Regions from separate parts of the Homo sapiens genome. Here region 2 is linked to region 1. Evidence: promoter capture Hi-C in human tissues and cell types (Jung and others, 2019). All regions are on one chromosome and are shown on one strand. Each heading gives the region's core, a stretch centred on a gene start or on the middle of the fragment in contact. The rest is flanking DNA. Distances are from core to core; before and after follow the strand shown. Region 1 holds the start of ZFHX2 (zinc finger homeobox 2). Region 2 overlaps LOC105370406 (a long non-coding RNA gene).

Region 1 (4,823 bases), core at 651-3,150:
CCTCCACCTCCCAAAGTGCTGGGATTACAGGTGTGAGCCACCACGCCCGGCCTGTTTTTGGTTTTGAGACGGAGTTTCACTCTTGTTGCCCAGGCTGGAGTGCAATGGTGTGATCTTGGCTCACCGCAACCTCTGCCCCCCGGGTTCAAGCGATTCTTCTGCCTCAGCCTCCCGAGTAGCTGGGATTACAGGTGCCCACCACCACGCCCAGCTAATTTTGTATTTTTAGTAGAGACAGGGTTTCACCATGTTGGTCAGGCTGGTCTCGAACTCCTGACCTCAGGTGATCTACCCACCTCAGCCTCCCAAAGTGCTGGGATTACAGGAGTGAGCCACCATGCCCGGCCAGCCTCTGCTTTTTCATTGAGAAAATGTGGCCTGCCTCACAGTTACCTGTGAGGATTCAGTCATAAACTGTCACATAGTATAAACTCAAAATGTTCATTTATCTCTCCTTTTTGTCATGTGAACTTCAGGGTTTTGTTGTGTTGTTTAAGAGAAGTAGGCTATAGCAGTTAGTATGGGCCCTGGAGCCAGACCATGGAGGTTTTTGAGTCCTGGCACTGTCACTTACTTATTGGCCATTGGACCTTGGGCCTGTTAATTCACTTGTTTGTGCCTTAGTTTCCTCAATAAATGAGACTATAATAGCATCTACCTCATGCTTGAGGTATTGAGAGGAGTAAACAATGTATGTAAAAGTGCTTGGAACTGTCCCTGTGCATTCAAGAAATCTTAAAAATTATTATTAGAATACAGGAGCGGCCGGGTGAGGTGGATCACCCCTATAATCCCAGGACTTTGGGAGGCTGAGGCCGGTGGATCACCTGAGGTCAGGAGTTCGAGACCAGCCTGGCTAAGATGGTGAAACCCCCGTCTCTACTAAAAATACAAAATTAGCAGGGCATGGTGGTGGGCACCTACAATCCCAGCTACTTGGGAGGCTGAGGCAGGAGAATCACTTGAACCTGGGAGGTGAAGGTTGCAGTGAGCCGGGATCATGCCACTGCACTGCAGCCTGGGCGACAGAGTGACTCTGTCTCAAGAAAAAAACAAACAAACAAAAAAACGGGCTGGGCGCGGTGGTGGTTCACACCTGTAATCCCAGCACTTTGGGAGGCCGAGGCAGGCGGATCACAAGGTCAGGAGTTCGAGACCAGCTTGACCAACGTGGTGAAACCCCGTCTCTACTAAAAATACAAAAATTAGCTGGGTGTGTTGATGCATGCCTGTAATCCCAGCTACTTAGGAGGCTGAGGTAGGAGAATCGCTTGAACCCGGTGGTGGAGGTTGCAGTGAGCCGAGATCGCACCACTGCACTCCAACCTGGGCGACTGAGTGAGACTCCGTCTCCAGAAAAAAAAAAAAAAAAAAAATTCAGGAGCACTTAATAAGCGATAAACTGAAGATGAGGAGGAGCCCGAACCTCCCCCAACCCAGCTCAGGGGACTATGTAACCGTGTGGAGGAGGCAGAAGCTCTCAGAGACTAAAGAGTAATTGCTGCGGTAGAGAAGGTTCTAGTACCCAATTTCGCGGGGGGAGATGGGGGAGGCGGAATAATAAGGCAGGAAGAAGAGAATGAAAAAAGGAGGCCTTGGGCGGCTCAGGGCTTGTTCTGAAGCTGATTTAAAACAAAACAACAAAACACATGTATGGTTTCTGCAGGCCACAGGATGAAGAGGAGAGGAGACGGAAAAGAGTTTAAAGGGGCCTGCCCTCTTTGCAGGCACCGGCTTGAACCTGGAGGCGACCTGGTGGGCTGGCCGGCCTGCCCCCGGCCCTGGGTCCCGCGAGGCAGGCGGGCGGGCGCGAACAGACTACAACTCCCGGCATGCGCCGCGGCGGGCGGGTCGCTGCACCTGCTCAGTGGGGCAGCCCCGGGCGCCTGGGTATTGATTATTCCATTGTGTGGGACGCCTAGACTCCAGCCAGTGAATGAGGCGGAGGAGTGAGGGCGAGGAGGAGGAGGAGGAGGAGGGCGAGGAGGAGAAGGAGGAGGAGGAGGAGGAGGCAGGGAGCGAGCGAGTGCCCAGGGTGAATCAATGGAAACCCCCTCACGAAGCCGGGGAAACACTTCAGCCGCAGCCAAATAGCATTGATTATTTTCCTTCACTTCCCTCACCGCCGTGAATTTATTTATTTATTTTTTTCCGTCTCCGTCCCTGACGCCCCGGAGCGAGCGCTGGAGGGAGGGAGGAGGAGGGGAAAAAAGAGGAATCAACACATCGGAGAAGTCCCTTCCAAGAGCCGCCCCCTCCCCTCCCCGCCTCGCGCTGCTCGGTGGCCGCGGTTCGACTCCCGTCCCTGCTTCCAGCTGAGGTGTAAGTGCATCGATTTCCGATGCTGCTGGGTTGGTTTTTTTCTCCTCTCCCTCTCTCTCTTCTTCCCTTCCTTGCTCTTTGGAAGCTCGAGACGGGAGAGGAGGCGCTTGGAGACTGCCGCTGGAGGGGACGGAGAGGGACGGGAAGGGGCTGGGGGAGGGGACAAGGACGGACGGACAGACAGACCGAGAGCCCTGGGAGATAGCAGACAGGGGTGTGGGAGGAAGAGGGCGTGCGCGAGGATGGGGGAAGAGAGATGCGGGGGTGGAGGGAGAAACGGGAACGGGAAAGGCAGAGGCCCGCCGGACAGACGAAGGGTATGGAAAGCCTAGACGGACCGCGCCGAGTTGGGCAGGGAGCGGGGATCCCGGGGGGAAGGGGAGGCCCGGTGAGTGTGAGGGCTCAGAGCTGTCAGCCTGGAGGGTCCTGGGTCTCGGCGGCCCCCCGCCGGCTGTGGGATGGGAGAACCGCGGCCGGCGGGCTGATGGATGGGCTAGCGCGCTGGGGCGTGGAGTGGGAGGGGACGTGGATACTCTCAGTCTTCGTTCGTTTTTGGCTGAAGTTGGGCTTTCCATTCCTTTTTTTGAAAGTGTTGAGTAGGTGAGGGGAGGCCATAAGCCCATTCAAGGTGAAGCGTGTCTGTCCTGCACGCCCATCCTACCACCCCCATCCGCTCGTCTGCCCCTCTGAGCAGCCCTATCATTTTCAAGCACAGGACCACGCTTCCTCGCTGTGCCTGTAGCCCCGCTGATCTCTGTCCATGTGTCCCTGACTTTTGGTTTTGCTGTTCTTCATCTTGTCTCTTCCATCCCATCCATCTCTGGATCTGTATGTCACTGTCTCCACTTGTGACCCTTCCCATCTGAGTGATCCTCTCCTTGTGTGTCTCTATCACTATGTGTCACGCCTTGGCTGCCTGTTCTGTCGGTCTAGGATTCCATGCCCTCTCCTTCAGAGTCTGTCTGGATATCTCTGGCCTTTTCAGGCTACTTTGGAATTTGCTTATCAGTCATGATTGTGGTGGTCACAGTCAGGGCCTGGAGGAGTGGGATGATGGAGCAAATGTGTCTTCGCCAAAGCCTCTAGTGCCTTCAGCATGGCCAGGACAGCCTCCTCTTCCACCATCACCAGAGAAGCTTTGGAACTTCCTAGCATTGTTGACTGTCCCCTTTGCCATGTGCCTGTCTCCCTCATCAGAACCTCACCTTCTGGTCTCATGCGTGTCATCTGCCTTTCCAGGAGCTTCGCACAACAAAACCTCTTCCCTGCTGACTTAATTTTACTCCCTTCCCCCACTGTATCATTGTATATTTTTTATTTCCCCATTTTGCTTCACCCCTTTTTTCCATCTGTTTCCCATGAGCTCTGAGTTTCCACCTTTGTTCCCATAATCTGCCCTCTTCCTACCTTTTCTTCTTGATCACCCTAAGTTTCTAGTTTCTTTTATCCCTTTTCCTCTTATCCAGCATTTTAACCCCAGCAGCAGAAAGTACCAGCAAGCAAAGGGCTGGGAGAGGTGTGGGGTATGGTTTGTGAAGGCACATAAACAGGCCAAGAAATAAATTTAATGAGCTTCCAGGGGCATATAACCCCTCCATCAGTCAGTGCCATTATGTCAGTTAACTGTCAACTTTGATTTTGTAAGGGGACATTCCCTAGGACTCTAAGCTCCACCCTGCCTGGTTGCCCCCCATCCTTCAGTTCATTCTAGATATCAGTTGCTTTTTCTTCACTTTTTAGTTCATCTTCTTCCTAGGCCCCTGCTACTATCATATTTAGATCCAGCACCATTTTTTTTTAATGAGGCAGTGTTTATTAGTGTAATAAAAGCTATCGTATGTAAGGAGCCAAGTTCATTTAGCCTGAAGAACAGTAAGGGTGGATAAAGGATCTGGAGAGTTTACCTTAGTTTTTAGCCCATCATTGTTTTTCCAAACCTCAGGAGCTTGGAAAGGTAAAAGGAGCAGGCAGACATGGGCAGAAGATGGACGATTTCAGAGGTGAACAGAATTAAAGAAAGAAAGGGGTGGTCGGTGCAATAAACACATGGGGTAGAGAAATGTATGACGTGAGGGATGTGCAAAGGAAGGGAGGAAAATCTATGCGGACTCGGGGGCAGGGGAGGAACCAAGGGGTGATTAATAAGAAATTGGAAGAATGAAACAAAACGTGTTGATAGCAATACAGAAGGTAAAAGGAAGAGAAATGATAGAATATTCCTAAAGTGGAGGTCAACAGAAAAAGCACTATGAAATTAATACAGTAGTAAAGAGGGGGAAGGGAGGAATTGCTGAACAAGATGAGATGGGAAGAGAGTATGGTACAAAGAAGGTAAATGGATGGCAAACGAAGGAGTGCTGAGGCAGATCAGAGCTGCACAGAGCTTGGTAGGAGGAAAAGAGGAGAGGATGAGGTATCAAAGGAAACAAATGCCTCTGGTGTGAGGAGGACACAGCGTGACTGATGCGAAGAGAGCGAGAGCACTGCGGGGGCGCCGGGGG
Region 2 (4,823 bases), core at 1,672-4,171, 360 kb after region 1:
ACATGAGAGTTCATTGTATTATTCTCTCTCCTTTGGGGAATGTTTGAAATTCTTTATTATACAATATTTTTTATTATTTTTTAATTATATTTGTTTTTTTAAATAATTTTTAATTTGCTTATTTAATATTTACTTTTAATATAGGCAAATTAGTGAAAATTATTTTTGAGATGGAGTCTCGCTCTGTTGCCAGGCTGGAGTGCAGTGGCATGATCTCAGCTCACTGCAACCTCCGCCTCCCGGGTTCAAGCAATTCTCATGCCTCGACCTCCCAAGTAGCTGGGACTACAGGCATGTACCACCACACATGGCTAATTTTTGTATTTTTAGTAGAGACAGGGTTTCACCATGTTGGCCAGGCTGGTCTCAAACTCATGGCCTCATGAAATCCACCTGCCTCAGCCTCCCAAAGTGCCGGGCTTACAGGCGTGAGCCACAGTGCCTGGCCTCTCGTTATATTTTTCTCACCCTTTCTGGATGATAACATCAGTGACCACTTATGTACTAATAACACTTAAATATGATTTTTTAGCCCAAATCTTTCTCCTGGGCTAGGGATACCATATATCCAACTGTCCACCAAGTGTTACCACATACATGTCCTATATACATTCATTCAGCAATTTTAAATTGGGTACCTACTTAGTCCTAGGCACTGTACTGGGCCCTGAAGACATTAGTGAGCAAAAAAAGCACCATTGTCCCTGCACTCATGGAGTTTGCAGTCTAGATGGGGAGGTAGACATTAATCATAAAATCACTCTAGTTATCACAAGTGAGGACTCTGAAACAAAGAACACACTCTAGGGCCAGGAATGGGGTGGGTGGGGGCTTCTTTGAGGAAGTAACAATTGTGCTAAATCAGAAGGATGAATAGCAGTGAACTAGGCTAAGGGCGAAGAGAAGCCTCTAGGCAGAAGGAAGAGCATGGACACAAAAAAAGCCCTTTGGGCCCTAGAACAGTGGCTCATGCCTGTAATCCCAGCACTTTAGGAGGCCTAGGCAGGAGGATTGCTTGAGACCAGGAGTTCAAGATCAGCCTGGGCAACATAGCAAGACCCCATCTCTATAAAAATATTTTAAAAATTAGCTGGGCATGGTGGTGCAGCCCTGTAGTCCTAGCTACTCAGGAGGCTGAGGCGGGAGGATTGCTTGAGCCCAGGAATTCAAGGCTGTAGTGAGCTATGATCACTCCACTGCCCTCCAGCCCGTGTGACAGAGCAGGCCCCTGTTTCTATGTTTTTGTTTTTGTTTTTTTGAGCCCTTTGGTAGGTCATCTGAGGACTGAAAGGAGGTTGGTGTGGCTGTGGCACAGAGAGCAGTGGTGACGCAGAGTGGGCTTGGAAGCCAGCTGGAGGTTGGGCCATGCATTTTGGCATGATAATGGCGGAGCGGGGCAGGCTGGAGAAAGAGCAGAAAGAATAATGACAGAGAGACAGTGGGCACTCAGAGGATTGGTAGTTACAATCAGAAAGAAATTTTTCGGCACCTGGTAAAAGGCACTTTTCCATGGTGGCTAAGTGTCTAGGCTCTGATTTGCAGAGTAAATGCTAAGCCAGGTGCTCCCGTTCATAAGGAAGTTTTCAGAGGTCAGTAGACAGCAGCAATTGAGGATGTGACCAAGTGGTAGTAAGCATCCAGAGAAGAATTGAGAAATAACAATGTCATGATTGAAAGCAACTGAGACAGAAAAGAATGTTGTACCTTTTTTCTCCCGTGGCACAGTGAAAAGAGCAAATGCAGTGAGGTCAATCAAGATTTAGAGTCCAATTACAGCTCTGCCATTGTGTGTGTCCTTGGCAAGTCACATAATTTTGAACCCGTTTCCTCCTTTGTAAAATGCAAAACAACGTTTACCTTGAAAGGTTGTTTGGAAGGTTAAACGAAATTAAACATGATGAAATTCCTTGTTACATGAAGTGTCTGGCACATAGTGATTGCTCAATACATGCTAGTCCCTTCCACCGTCCAGGTGCCATCAGAACATGGCAAGGACCCATCTCTACTGAGGAGTATTAGGAGGGTGGATGTGCTGTCGGGAGAGCACAGGTTTCATTTGAGGTGTGGAGGTCCAGGGAGTGTTGGAAGAAGATACTGAGCACACGAAATGAGTGCATGAAGTAGGGGAGAATTAGCACTAAATTGAATTACTGAATAGAAATGAGACTATAATGAAGGAAGAGCATTACAAAACAATTGGTTCCAGAGCAGTGAGGGTGAATCATGGGAACAAAGGACATCGAAGCCTTAGAGGTAGACAAGAGATATGGTGAAGATGGGCTACGAGTCAAGCGCTTATAATTCCATTTGGTTCCTCTGATAGCTTAATTCATTTATTATAAATCTTCCATGTTTTCTAAATCTGTGAGACTTTACATTTACCTCAGAATACTACTTTAGCTGCATCTCATGGGTTTTTTTTTTTTCTTTAGAGACAGAGTGTCACTATGTTGCCCAAGCTGGACTTGAACTCCTGAGATCAAGCAATCCTTCCACCTCAGCCTCCCAAATAGCTGGGACTGTAGACGTGCACCACAACACCTGGCTCCTATATGCAGTACTTTCATTGTCAGTTAACTTCTAGTTATTTCATTTCCATTATTATTATTTAACCGAGTTATTTCGTTCATTTTCAAATTTCCCAAAAGTCTTTACCTTATTTTCTATTTTAATTGTTGATTGCTAATTTAATTTCATTGTGACCCAAGAATCTGTGTGATGCTGTATGATTTCACATCTTTGAAATTTCTAGAGCTCCTCTGTGACCCAGTAAATCGAAATGTTTTTAAATATACCATGCATACTTGGAAATAATGTATAGTCTCTATTTTTTAATGCACAGTTCTTTAGAAATCTGTTAGATCAAGCTTGCTAATTTGTTCAAATATTTTATCTGTTTACTAATTTTTCTGGCCTGTTTGATACAGCAGCGTTGTTTTTTTTTTTTTTTTTTTTTTTGAGACAGAGTCTCACTCTGTAGCCCAAGCTGGAGTGCAGTGGCACGATCTCGGCTCACTGCAACCTCCATCTCCCGGGCTCATGCGATTCTCATGCCTCAGCCTCCCACATAGCTGGGACTACAGGTGGGTGCTACCACGCCCAGATAATTTTTATTTTAGTAGAGATGCAGTTTCACCATGTTGCCCAGGGTGGTCTCAAACTCCTGAGCTCAGATGATCTGCCCACCTCAGCCTCCCAAAGTGCTGGGATTATAGGTGTGTGTCACTGCGCCTGGCTGATTTATCAGCTTCTAATAGAGGTACATTAAAATTTCTCCCAATGATTGCAAATTTTCCAAATTTGTTTTTCAATTCTATCAATTTTTTCTTCATCTATTTCAAGCCTTATTTTTAGGTACTTAGAAGTTCAAGATTGTCATATCTTCTTGAGTGTTCTTTTAATTATTTTATATTGGCCTCCTTTATATATATTGATGCTTTTTGCCTTAAATTCTAATGTGACTGATAATACCATTGCTGCCATGTTTATGTAGTGCTTGTCTGCTACCTATTTTCCTCTTTTGTTTTTAATTTTTAAGTGATAGTATATGAGGCCAGGAATGGTGGCTCATGCCTGTAAACCCAGCACTTTGGGAGGCCGAGGCGGGTGGATCACCTGAGGTCAGGAGTTCCAGACCAGCCTGGCCAACATGGTGAAACCCTGTCTCTACTAAAAATACAAAAATTAGCCAGGCGTAGCGGCAGGCTCCTGTAATCCCATCTACTTGGGAGGCTGAGGCAGGAGAATCGCTTGAACCCAGGAGGCGGAGGTTGCAGTGAGCCAAGATCGCGCCACTGCACTCCAGCTTGGGCAACAAGAGTGACACTCCATCTCAGAAAAAAAGAAAGATAGTATATGGTTTTAAAAGTCATATTGTACTACAAAACTTCTAATAACTACCCCCACTCTTCTTCTCTTTCCATTCTTCCTTTTTTTTTTTTGTTAAATCTTCTACTGGTATGCGTTATTATGACTATCTACATATTCTTTATTGCTGAGCCAAATCAAACAATTCCTTGAAGTTAATACTTGCCTCATGTTTTCATTTGCTTGCTTTTCTGTGTCACTATCGCTAGTTCTTCTTAGACTCATTAGATAAAAACATAAATCCGCCCCCTGGGTACTATGTTCCAGGCTGCCAAACATCAAGTAATCCTCAGCTGCATTTTTATTTTCTGGGAGACATCCTCTTGAGTCCTCCATTCTGCCCTCCCTCTGGAGGGGTGGCTGTCTGGTCCTAATTCACCCTCTTATCCTAGGAATTCTCTTTGACTGTCTCTAGTTGTGGTACCTTATTCCTGAACTCAGGGTCTTCTTCCTCCTTTACTTATTCCCTTATTTTGGTGGTGCACATTCTCCAACAGCTTTCTGAAAAAGAACACAAGAGAGGTAAATGTGAGATCTTATATTTTGATAGAGATTTTATTTTATACCCACTTTTGATTGATACTTTGGCTATGTATAATTTTCTGAGTTGAAAATCATATTCCTTCTCAATTTTGAAGACATTGCTCCATTTAAACTTCTATAATAGCATTGCTGCTGAGAAAGGCAGTGCCATTCTGGTAACATTCTTTTTTTTTTTTTTTTTTTTTTTTTTTAGACAGAGTTTTTCTCTTGTTGCCCAGGCTGGAGTGCAATGGCGTGATCTCGTCTCACAGCAACCTCCACCTCCCAGGTTCAAGCGATTCTCCTGCCTCAGCCTCCCTAGTAGCTGGGATTACAGGCATGTGCCACCATGCCCGGCTAATTTTTGTATTTTTACTAGAGACAGGGTTTCTCCATGCTGGTCAGGCTGGTCTCAAACTCCCGACCTCAGGTGA

The links. Contacts are between HindIII fragments. The study calls those that stand out against the background at their distance.
Region 2: a contact is called between a fragment that was not itself captured here and the fragment with the promoter of ZFHX2 in region 1, in 1 of the 25 tissues and cell types used here (adrenal gland).

The regions. Positions count from the first base shown.
Region 1 is chr14:23,548,842-23,553,664 of GRCh38, reverse strand. It overlaps ZFHX2 (zinc finger homeobox 2), which reads left to right and starts at 1,900. Exons shown (of 10, transcript NM_033400.3): 1 at 1,900-2,322. It also overlaps a transcript of THTPA not described here. RefSeq lists enhancers at 1,547-1,596, 2,446-3,108 and a silencer at 1,727-1,966. The HindIII fragment of the contact is 20,255 bases long and covers 1-4,823 here.
Region 2 is chr14:23,192,870-23,197,692 of GRCh38, reverse strand. It overlaps LOC105370406 (a long non-coding RNA gene), which reads left to right. Exons shown (of 4, transcript XR_943606.3): 4 at 2,433-2,811. It also overlaps a transcript of RNF212B not described here. Among named protein-coding and RNA genes, the nearest start is that of SLC7A8, 12 kb to the right of the region's middle. The HindIII fragment of the contact is 4,786 bases long and covers 529-4,823 here.